Regions from separate parts of the Homo sapiens genome. Here all the other regions are linked to region 1. Evidence: promoter capture Hi-C in 16 types of primary human blood cells and fetal thymus (Javierre and others, 2016). All regions are on one chromosome and are shown on one strand. The core of a region is centred on a gene start or on the middle of the fragment in contact, and the rest is flanking DNA. Distances in the headings are between cores, read along the strand shown.

Region 1 (3,499 bases), core at 390-2,889:
AGGGATCCCAAGGCCAGCATCTGGAGAGAAAGAGGAGGAGGAGAGGTGAAGCCAGCTATCCACAGAGAGACCAGCTGAGAGGTGTAATGCTGGCTGGAGTCCCAGCATTAGAACTACAGGCTGCAGGCCAGACATGATGGATGTGCTCCAGACTCCGCAGAAATCACCCTGGAGAGTGGGAAAAGCAGGGCTGACCAAGCAAGGGAGAAAGATGAAACCTCTGCATCCTTCCCTGTCCAATAAGATAGCCATTAGCTACCTGTGGCTGTTTACATTTAAATTAATGAAAATTAGATAAAATAAAAATGCAATTCCTCAGTCTCATTAGCCACATTTCAAGTGCTTGATAGCCATATATGGCTAGTGGCTGCCAGATTGGACAGTGCAGATATAAGATATTAATATTTCCATCACGCAGAAAGCTCTACTTGAATGTAAATTACCTCATTAATATATTTTGTATTGATTACATGTTGAAATAACATTCTGGACATATAGAGTTAAATAAGCTATAATATTAACTTCACCTGCTTCTTTTTACGTGTTTTACTGTGGGTAATAGAAACTTGTCAATTACCAATGTAGTTCATATTTCTATTGAACAGCGTGGTTGTAGGTGGATACAGGAACACACCTCCATTTATTCATTGTTCTTAACACCTCATCCATCCAATGGTATTTGATTGGATAATAGCTGTAAAAATCCCTTCTCAACAGTAAAGGTGACTGAGGCAGCCCCAGGGTAATGGGGCAAATGCAACTTTGGAGGCACAAAAATTCAGGTTCAAATCTCATCTCCATCCCTCTACTAGCTTTGAAGTCTTGGGCAAATTACATGCCTCAGTTTCTCATCTGAAAAATGCAATCAGTGAATGATCCACTGCATAGCATTTCTTTGAAGTTTAAAGAAGACAGTGGGTAGTGCACGTATGGGGGCTAGCGTGGGCTCCTAGTAAACCTCGGTAAAAGGTAGCATTGTTGTTATCATTACCATTTTAAGTGTGAAAGTGTAGGGGATTATGGTCAGTTTCTCTGGCCTCAGCCTACTCACAACCCTACCCGCTGCCTTCAGCAGCCCCTCCCAGCCCTCTGCAAAGCCCTTGGCACAGCCTGGACACTTACCTGCTGGCAGCTGCTGGCCCAGGAAGCCCGTAGGGCACCCCAGTTTCCCGAGCGTGTGGCTTTGCTCTCCAGGTGCATCCGCAGTTGTGTTTCCAGCTCCTGACTGACTTGCTCAAGGGCGTGCACTTTGGCCATATATTCCACCAGGCAGCCCCCTAGGTCCTCAACAGCACCATGGTCCCTCTCCAAACCTGGAGCCGGCACGGTGGCCAGGCCTGAGCTCCGCAGGCCCTGAAGGAAGACACTGCTGATGCCGAGGGCCCGGCGGGTCACACGGGCACCCAAGCCACCTATGCACCCACTGGGTGCTGTTCCTACATAGACCCCGGGTGCTCGGACAAGGCCACTCATGGCATTGGTCCTGGAGGCTGGGGGGCTCTCCAGGGAGGATGATGACCGTGGCCCCCTGAAGGACGCCCTGCGCCTCTGGAGGGGCATGCTGGAGCTGGCACTGGTGGGCAAGTCCACTACCACTCGCCTCTCACTCATCACCCCTTCTGCCTCTGTGGTGCCCAGTGGGTTTACAGAGTCCAGTGGCTTTTGGTTTACAGCCCCAGCATCCCTGTGGCCTGGTCACGGGCCTCTCTGGAATCTCCCCTATCCCTGGGGCTGCTTTGTCTGCTGTCTTCCATGAGTTTCCATCATTCACTGAGCTGAAAGAGAAATGGGCACTGCCCAGGGCTGTGTGCAGAGAGGCACTCATGCATTCTTTGATGCAGGGTCATGTGCCCAACCTCCCAGATTATTCTGCTGGTGGTGGGGGAGGCTGGATCAGTGCAGGCTGTGGAGGTAGACCATTTGGGTTTGTGCATTTTACTACCTAAGTGGGCAAGGCAGGCATCAAGCAACCCCATTTTACAGATGAGTAAACTGAGGCTCAAGGACCTCAGATGACAAGTGTACTGATCACTTGCCCCAGACCTCAGATTACAAGCTAGGACTCAATCTAGCTATTTCAGGGCTTTCTACATCCCTATGTGTGCTGGCACATGTGAATGTGAACACATGTCCACACAGGCAATAGAGGATGAAAAATGGCAGGAGGCAGCTCCAGGGACCCAAGAGAAAAGACTTGCCTATGGTTTCCTCTCTCAGTCCTGGCAGCAGCTTCAGGTCCTTCCCTCACCTCTCTCCTTTCCTCCTCATCTCTGTCCTCTAATGCTCTGCTGTTCATCAGCTGCTTGCTGTTGGCCAGGATGCTTCCTCCCTCTGGACCTCACTGTCTGAACATTGGCTTGGGCCTTTAACTCTCTGATGCACCAGATAAGGACCTTGGGCAAATTCAGATCCCACACATGTTCCGGCCATTCCCTACACCTCTGCTTCTCCATCTGTTGGAAAACTGAGAAATAAAAACAACAACGAGGGTGTTTTCTGGTAAGCCTCTCCAAGGGTGCCCCAAGTTAGGATATGATGACACCCCTGGGTTTTAATTATTGACCTTGGCATCCACTAAGCCACCAAGGGTCACACCTCAATCACTTCTCTAGGATCAGAAAGGTTCCCCCAGTTACAGGATGACAACATGGACCTAAAAACCTCTGTACATAAGTTTTACCCTGGAGAAACCAGGTCACCAAACCCCAGAGCTGGATACTTTTCCAGATGCTGTAATGTAGGAATGTACCTCAGGTGAGAGAAGGAGAAGGGAGTCAATCTCTAGTGAGTAGCAGATCCAGCCTGGTGTGTGCATGAATCCTATGGTTTATTTCGTGGAATTCTCAACTCAACCTCAGGAGGAAGGAGGTCCAGGGTTGACAGGTACTGCCATATGGGCTGTGTACCTCACAGCTCTAAAATGACATGTCCTACAGTTGGCCACTGTCCTCTTATGTGAGGAGGACCCCGAGAGCTGCAATGACTTGCCCAAGGTTCTATGTCCAGAAAGTAGCAGAGCTGGGGGCAGACAACCTCTTCCAAACTCTGGGCCACTGACTTACTTAGGAGCCTCCCTGTTGCCCACCACCCAGAGAGCAGAGTACCTACCTGAGGTCACGCAGGTAGAGGTAAAAAACCTGGTCGCCTACTAGAGGACCCTGTGTGCACTTCCTTCCTACTGACCAGGACACTCCAACCCTTCCTTTCTTTATTGTCTTCCACTTTGTCTCTCTGAGATGGCCTGGGAGGTATTTTATAAATATCAGTGTTGGCTATTTGATGAACAGATGAAAGAACCAATTGGATTAAGTAAAGGCCAGTAGTGTCCTTGTTTATTCAGATGTAGCATTAATGCTGTGAACACCACCCCTGATGCACCCAGAAGGGGCATGCGAGCCTGTGTTACAGTAACAGCCTCCTATACGGATGACACTGACTTGGTTCTGAGGATCTGCATTATTGTGAATTCCAAGATGTATTGTCCAAGGCTGAATGAAAA
Region 2 (3,499 bases), core at 372-2,871, 390 kb after region 1:
GCATGCAAGTCTGAAACTCAGCAGGGCAGTCATTAATTTTTTTTGTTTGTTTTGAGACAGAGTCTTGCTCTGTCACCCAGTCTGGAGTGCAGTCTGCAACCTCCGCCTGCTGGGTTCAAGCAATTCTCCTGCCTCAGCCTCCTGAGTAGCTGGGACTATAGGCACGTGCCACCATGCCCAGCTAATTTTTTGTATTTTTAGTAGAGACAGGGTTTCACCATGCTGGCCAGGCTGGTCTCAAACTCCTGACCTTGTGATCCACCTGCCTCGGCCTCCCAAAGTGCTGGGATTACAGGTGTGAGCCACTGCTCCCGCCTCAGTCGTTAGATTTTAAAGCTCCAAAATAGTCTCCTTTGACTCCATGTCTTACATCCAAGGCACACTGATGCAAAAGGTGGGCTCCCAAGGACTTGGGCAGCTCCACCCCTCTCTCTTTGCAGGGTGCAAACCCTGTGGCTGCTCTCATGGGTTGATGATGAGTACTTGTGGCTTTTCCAGGTGTAGGATGCAAGCTGTCAATGGATCTACCATTCTGGGGTCTAGAGGACAGTGGCCCTCTTCTCACAGCTCCACTAGGCAGTGCCCCAGTGGGGACTTTGTGTGGTGGCTGCAACCCCTCATTTCCCCTCTGCACTTCCCTAGTAGAGGTTCCCCATGAGGGCTCCACCCTTGCAACAGGCTCCTGCCTATATATCTAGACTTTTCTATACAACCTCTGACATTCAGGTGGAGGCTCCCAAGCCTCAAGTATTGCACTCTGAGTGCCCACAGGTTTAACACTGTAAGCCACCAAGGTTTATGCTTGCACCTTTTGAAGCAGCTAGAGCTGGAGCAGCTGGGATATTGGGTGTACCTGGGCCCCTTTGAACCATGGCTGGAGCTGGAGCAGCTGGGATGCAGGGTGAAGTGTTCTGTGGCTGCACAGATCAGCAGGGTCCTGGGCCTGGCCAAGTGATATGGTTTGGCTGTGTCCCCACCACCCAAATCTTAACTTGAATTGTATCTCCCAGAATCCCTACTTGTTGTGGGAGGGACCCAGGAGGATGAAATGGAATCATGGGGGCTGGTCTTTCCCATGCTATTTTTGTGATAGTAAGTCTCATGAGATCTGATGGGTTTATCAAGGGTTTCCACTTTTGCTTCCTCCTCATTTTTTTTCTTGCCACCACCATGTAAGAAGTGCCTTTTGCCTGCTGCCATGATTCTGAAGCCTCCCCAGCCATACGGAACTGTAAGTCCAATTAAACCTCTTTTTATTCCCAGTTTCGGGTTTGCCTTTATCAGCAGCATGAAAATGAACTAATACCGTAAAATTGGTACCAGTAGAGTCGGGCACTGCTGAAAATATACCCAAAAATGGGCCCAAAAATGTGGAAGTGACTTTGGAACTGGGTAACAGGCAGAGGTTGGAACAATTTGGGGGACTCAGAAGAAGACAGAAAAATGTGGGAAAGTTTGGAACGTCCTAGAGACTTGTTGAATGGCTTTGGCAAAAATGCTGATAGTGATATGAACAATAAGGTTCAGGCTGAGGTGGTCTCAGATGGAGATGAGGGACCTGTTGGGAACTGGAGCAAAGGTGACTCTTATTATGTTTTAGCAAAGAGACTAGCGGCATTTTGTTCCTGCCCTAGAGATTTGTAGAACTTTGAACTTGAGAGAGATGATTTAGGGTATCTGGGGGAAGAAATTTCTAAGCAGCAAAGCATTCAAAAGGCAACTTGGGTGCTGTTAAAAGCATTATGTTTTAAAAGGGAAACAGAGCATTAAAGTTCAGAAAATTTGCAGCCTGGTGATGCAGTGGGAAAAAAACCATTTTTTTCAGAAGAAATTCAAACTGGCTGCCAGAATGTGCGTAAGTAGCAAGAAGCCTAATGTTAATCCCCAAGACCATGAGGAAAATGTCTCCAGACCATGTCAGAGACCTTCATGGCAGCCCCTCCCATCACAGGCCTGGAGGCCCAGGAGGAAAAAGTGGTTTCATGGGCCAGGCCCAGGGTGCCCCTGCTATGTGCAGCCTAGGGACTTGGTGCCCTGTGTCCCAGCCACTCTAGCTGTGGATGAAAGGGGCCAACACAGAGCTCAAGCTGTGGCTTCAGAGGGTGGGAGCCCCAAGCCTTGGCAGCTTCCATGTGCTGCTGTGCCTGCTTATGCACAGAATTCAAAAATTGAGGTTTGGAAACCTCTGCCTAGATTTCAGAAGATGTATGGAAAAGCCTGAATGCCCAGGCAAAAGTTTGTGGCAGAGGCAGGGCCCTCATGGAGAACCTCTGCTAGGGCAGTGCTGAAGGAAAATGTGGGATCGGAGCACCCTCACAGAGTCCCTACTGGGGCACTTCCTAGTGGAGCTGTGAGAAGAGGGCCACCATTTTCCAGACCCCAGAATGGTAGATCCACTGACAGCTTGCACCGTGTACCTGGAAAAGCTGCAGACACAACACCAGCCCATGAAAGCAGCCAAGAGGGAGGCTGTACCCTGCAAAGACACAGGGGCGGAGCTGTCCAAGACCATGGGTACCCACCTCTTGCATCAGTGTGACCTGGATGTGAGACCTGGAGTCAAAGGAGATCATTTTGGAGCTTTAAAATGTGACTACCCTGCTGGATTTTGGACTTGGATAGGCCCTGTAACCCCTTTGTTTTGGCCAATTTCTCCCATAAGGAATGGCTGTATTTACCCAATACCTGTACCCCATTGTATCTAGGAAGTAACTAGCTTGCTTTTGATTTTACAGGCTCACAGGTGGAAGGGACTTGCCTTATCTCAGATGAGACTTTGGACTGTGGACTTTTGGATTAATGCTGAATTAATTGGATTAATGCTTAATTGAGTTAAGACTTTGGGGCACTGTTGGGAAGGCATGATTGGTTTTGAAATGTGAGAACATGAGATTTGGAGGGACCGGGGGTGGAATGATATGGTTTGGCTATGTCCCTACCCAAATCTCAACTTGAATTGTATCTCCCAGAATTCCCATTTGTTGGAGGGACCCAGGGGGAGGTAATTAAATCATGGGGGTTGGTCTTTCCTGTGCTATTCTTGTGATAGTGAATAAGTCTCATGAGATCTGATGAGTTCATCAGAGGTTTCTGCTTTTGCTTCCTCCTCATTTTTTTCTTGCCACCACCATGTAAGAAGTGCCTTTTGCCTCCTGCCATGATTCTGAGGCCTCCCCAGCCATGTGGAAATGTAATTTCAATTAAACCTCTTTTTATTCCCAGTTTCAGGTATGTCTTTATCAGCAGTGTGAAAATGAACTAATACACACAGGAAACCATTCTTCCCTCCTAGGTCTCTGGGCCTGTGATGGGAGGGGCTGCCACAAAAGTCTGTGAAATGCCTTTGAGGCCTTTTCCCTATTGTCTTGGCTAATAACATTGGGGTCCTCTTTACTTATGAAGCTTTCTGCACTCAGCTTGACTTCCTCCCCAGAAAATAGATTTATCTTTTCTTTTTTTTTTTTTTTGAGACGGAGTCTCACTCTGTGGTCCAGGCTGG
Region 3 (3,499 bases), core at 635-3,134, 320 kb after region 1:
TCAAGGAATTCAGGTTCCTTTGCCACCCACTCCTGTAAGATGGACTTCCTTTCCTGCAGAGCATTCAGTGCCGCTGGCAGTTATGCACCATCATTGTGAATATCTGATTAGCATTTATTTCCCCCAGTAGACTGTAAACTCCAGAGAAGCCTGGTTTTGCTCAGCAAGCTTGGTTATGGGCACAAAGCAGGCACTCAAATATCTGTAGAATGGCTGTTGAAGTAACTTGGCATGGCAAAGGAGAGAGCACAAAGCAGACTGCAGAGGTCATAAAGTATGCTGCTCAGATTTATTTTCAAGACAAAATCTGCCACAAGGAGTAGAGTTAGCTGACAGCTCCTAGCTGTGGGTGTCTTTAGGATCTGCCACGGCTTTGAAGCTGAGGTCATGCTCTACTAAGGTAGCTCCAGCCAATAACCAAGCAAGGCTTGCCACTCCCAACCAATGGGGACTCCTCTATAGATGATCTTTGCACAAAAGTTCCTTGTTGCTCAGAGTTACATTGCAGTACAATGCTCTTCCTATCTGATTGTACTTGATTCCTTTCTTTTTCATGTGTCTCACTTGGTATTGCAGTCTAAAGTTTCCCTACCTACTCTTTTTCCCTTTCCCTATTATCTTTCCCCAATAGATCTTTTGCATTTCTAATCCCATGTTGGTGTCTGCTTCCTGGAAGAACCAACCAACATGAAGGCAGAGAGATACAATGCTGAAGCATTAAATAAGAGTCAGAGTTACAAGTGTTATGCAAAGAAATGTGAATTTTATTCTGGCCTGCAGGGAAATGTGACAGATCTATATTCCATATAGCAAGAATGGATTGAAGGAATGGCACAATCATTGCTGTGAACTGAATTGCGTTCCCCCCAAATTCATATGTTGAAGCCCTAATGTGATAGTATTTGTAGATGGAGTCTTTGGGAGGTAATTAGATTTAGATGAGGTCATGAGGGTGAGGCCCCTATGATGAGATTAGTGCCTTTATAAGAAGAGATACCAGAGTGCTTATTCTTTCCCTTTCTGCCGTGTGAGAACACGTCAAGGAGGTGGCCATCTGCAAACTGGGAAGAAAACCCTCACCATATTCTGACCATACTGGTACCCTGATCTCAAATTTCCCGCATTCAGAACTGTGAGAAAACAAATTTCTCTTGTCAAACCGCCCAGTCTATGGTATTTTGTGATGGCAGCCTGAGCTAGGACAGTCATCTTCCAGTGAAACGTCCAGATGAGAAATGATGAAGGTATGGATGAAGGCATGAGAAGTGACGACACTGTGCTATGGAACTGTTCAAGGAAACTGTAATTATCCACATTTTATATCCGAGAAGTTGTTATGTGGAAAGATAAGAATAACTTACCCAAGATCACCCATCTGGTCAGCTTAAAGTTCATGTTCCTTTCATCAAACGACTCTGCCACCCAGAGGAGAAGCTTTAAGGAGCTAAAGGGGAAGAGGATGAGTTCCTTTTTCATGTGAAGAGACCCTACTTGTGTCTATCTAGAGACTAAGCTTTCATTCACGCAAGTCCTAGTATTTAAAAAAAATGGAGAAAATATCCAAATATTAAGTACTAGGATGAAAGTACTTCACACTGGGTACATTGAACTGTACTGGCTTTCCTCTAGATATACACTTTACAATCAGCATGTAGCACTAAGTGTCTACTAATTTCAGCTTCTGAGTGTAAAAAAAAACAATATATGAGTTGAATGAAGGAAATGAACACACATGTGAATAACCAAATATGTGAAGAGATATGAACAAAGAGCTATGGAAAGGTATATAGGATCATTAATTCTGACTAAAGAGCTCTGGGAAGGATTCCAGGGGAGAAAGTGTTTGAGTTGGGCCTTGAAGAAGGAACAAGGATTAGACAAAGCATTCCTTCCTTGAAGTTATTGTCAAGACCAAAGGTAACCAACATATGTCCTTACATGCAAAAAATATGGTGAAGATGTAAATGAGTGGCTTAGTTTCTGCATCATACTTTATGTAAATCAGTTATTTTGAGGCCTCTGGAAGTTAATCACAACTCAAAGAGTTTGAAATTCACCTTCACATAGCCATCAGTTCCTTATTCCTATTTATACCCTCTACAGCAATGAATGTAAAAGAATGGCAAAAGAAGGGGCCGCAGACAGTGGACATCCTGCCATTATCCCTGTTAGGGATAATGCTCTTGGGAATGCAGTTGAACGGTCCCCCATCTGTGCTCTCCTCTAGGCTTCTTTTTCATGTGTAGGGAAGCTTAGGCAGCTCACTTTAGCATACAGCACTATTTTATCAAGCATCTACCTTGGACGAGATGACAAGTAAGTATGTGGAAAGAGTCCATTCCCCCTAATTGTGGCCTTGGCCTGTAGCAAGAAGACATCTGTGCAAAACTTAGATCTCACACCCCAAGCATTGGAGTGAGGCCTCTGGCTATATAGAGAAAGCACTCAGCCTCCACCCAGAAGCTCCTTTACATGATGAGGCCCTGCCTTGAAGAGAAGGCATACCTAGCACCTCTGCCTCAGCAGGTAAGCAAGACGGTCACAGTCAAGCAAGACACACCCTTATTCCTCGCTTTCAAGCTTCGTGCCTGTCCCATCTGTCATTCATTTCAGAATGATACTTTGCTGGGGCCCTTCTGACCTGCAGTTCCTTACCTGCTGCCATAAACAGAATGTTTGTGTCCTCCCAAAATTCACATGCTGAACCTAATCCTAATGTGATGGTACCTGGACATAGGGCCTTTCAGACATGATTAGATCATGAACTCTCAAGAATGGGATGAGTGCCCTTGTAAGAGGGACTCCAGAGAGGACCTTTGCTCCTTTCTGCCACGTGAGGACAAAGAAAGTAGATGGCTACCTGTAAACCAGAAGCGGACCCTCATCAGATATTGAATCAGCTTGCCACCTTGATCTTGGACTTCCAGCCTACACAACTGTAAGAAATCCATTTCTGTTGTTTACAAGCCACCTAGTCTATATTATTCTGGTATAGCAACCCAAACGGACTAAGGCACCTGCAAAATAAAGATAATGACGAACATCTCAACAATCCCCAAAGAATCACTGAGAGGATTTATGTAACTCTGTTTTTTGAAAGACCCATTCTCTGGACAAAGTTCCAGATAAATGTATATGCATTGCATATTCCATCTCACCTGACCAGGGTTGAAGGCCCCTCTTTACACACAGGGAACAAATCCAGGAGGAAATAAATGGTTTAGTAAAATGCAGTCAGCAATTATGTCTTCCCCTTCGTAAGTCACAGCTATCTGATCCATTCTTCTAGAACCTAATTATATACCACCGGCACTTCTCGCTGAATTCAATATTTATATAACTATTATTATATTTTGCAAGTTTGTCTTCTCTTCTCAATTTAATGGCTGAAAGTTTCTGAAAGGCAGCAATCATGTTTTAAGCATCTTAACACCCTTACAGTTTTGAGCAGAGAATAACATGCAAAATAATATGTCAATATCTATTCGCTGGATAAATG

What was found. Contacts are between HindIII fragments. The CHiCAGO score rates a contact against its expected background, and 5 or more counts as called.
Region 2: a contact is called between a fragment that was not itself captured here and the fragment with the promoter of BFSP2 in region 1, in 1 of 17 cell types (erythroblasts). The highest score is 5.1, in erythroblasts.
Region 3: a fragment that was not itself captured here is called in contact with the fragment with the promoter of BFSP2 in region 1 in 2 of 17 cell types (megakaryocytes and endothelial precursors); the score reaches 6.4 in megakaryocytes.

What each region holds. Positions count from the first base shown.
Region 1 is chr3:133,398,196-133,401,694 of GRCh38, reverse strand. BFSP2 (beaded filament structural protein 2) reads right to left here and starts at 1,639. Exons shown (of 7, transcript NM_003571.4): 1 at 1,123-1,639. The coding sequence starts at 1,611. The HindIII fragment of the contact is 8,153 bases long and covers 1-3,499 here.
Region 2 is chr3:133,010,376-133,013,874 of GRCh38, reverse strand. No RefSeq gene overlaps it. Among named protein-coding and RNA genes, the nearest start is that of TMEM108, 26 kb to the left of the region's middle. The HindIII fragment of the contact is 3,567 bases long and covers 1-3,404 here.
Region 3 is chr3:133,078,868-133,082,366 of GRCh38, reverse strand. The region is part of intron 2 of TMEM108 (transmembrane protein 108); the gene reads right to left. Among named protein-coding and RNA genes, the nearest start is that of TMEM108, 42 kb to the right of the region's middle. The HindIII fragment of the contact is 738 bases long and covers 1,516-2,253 here.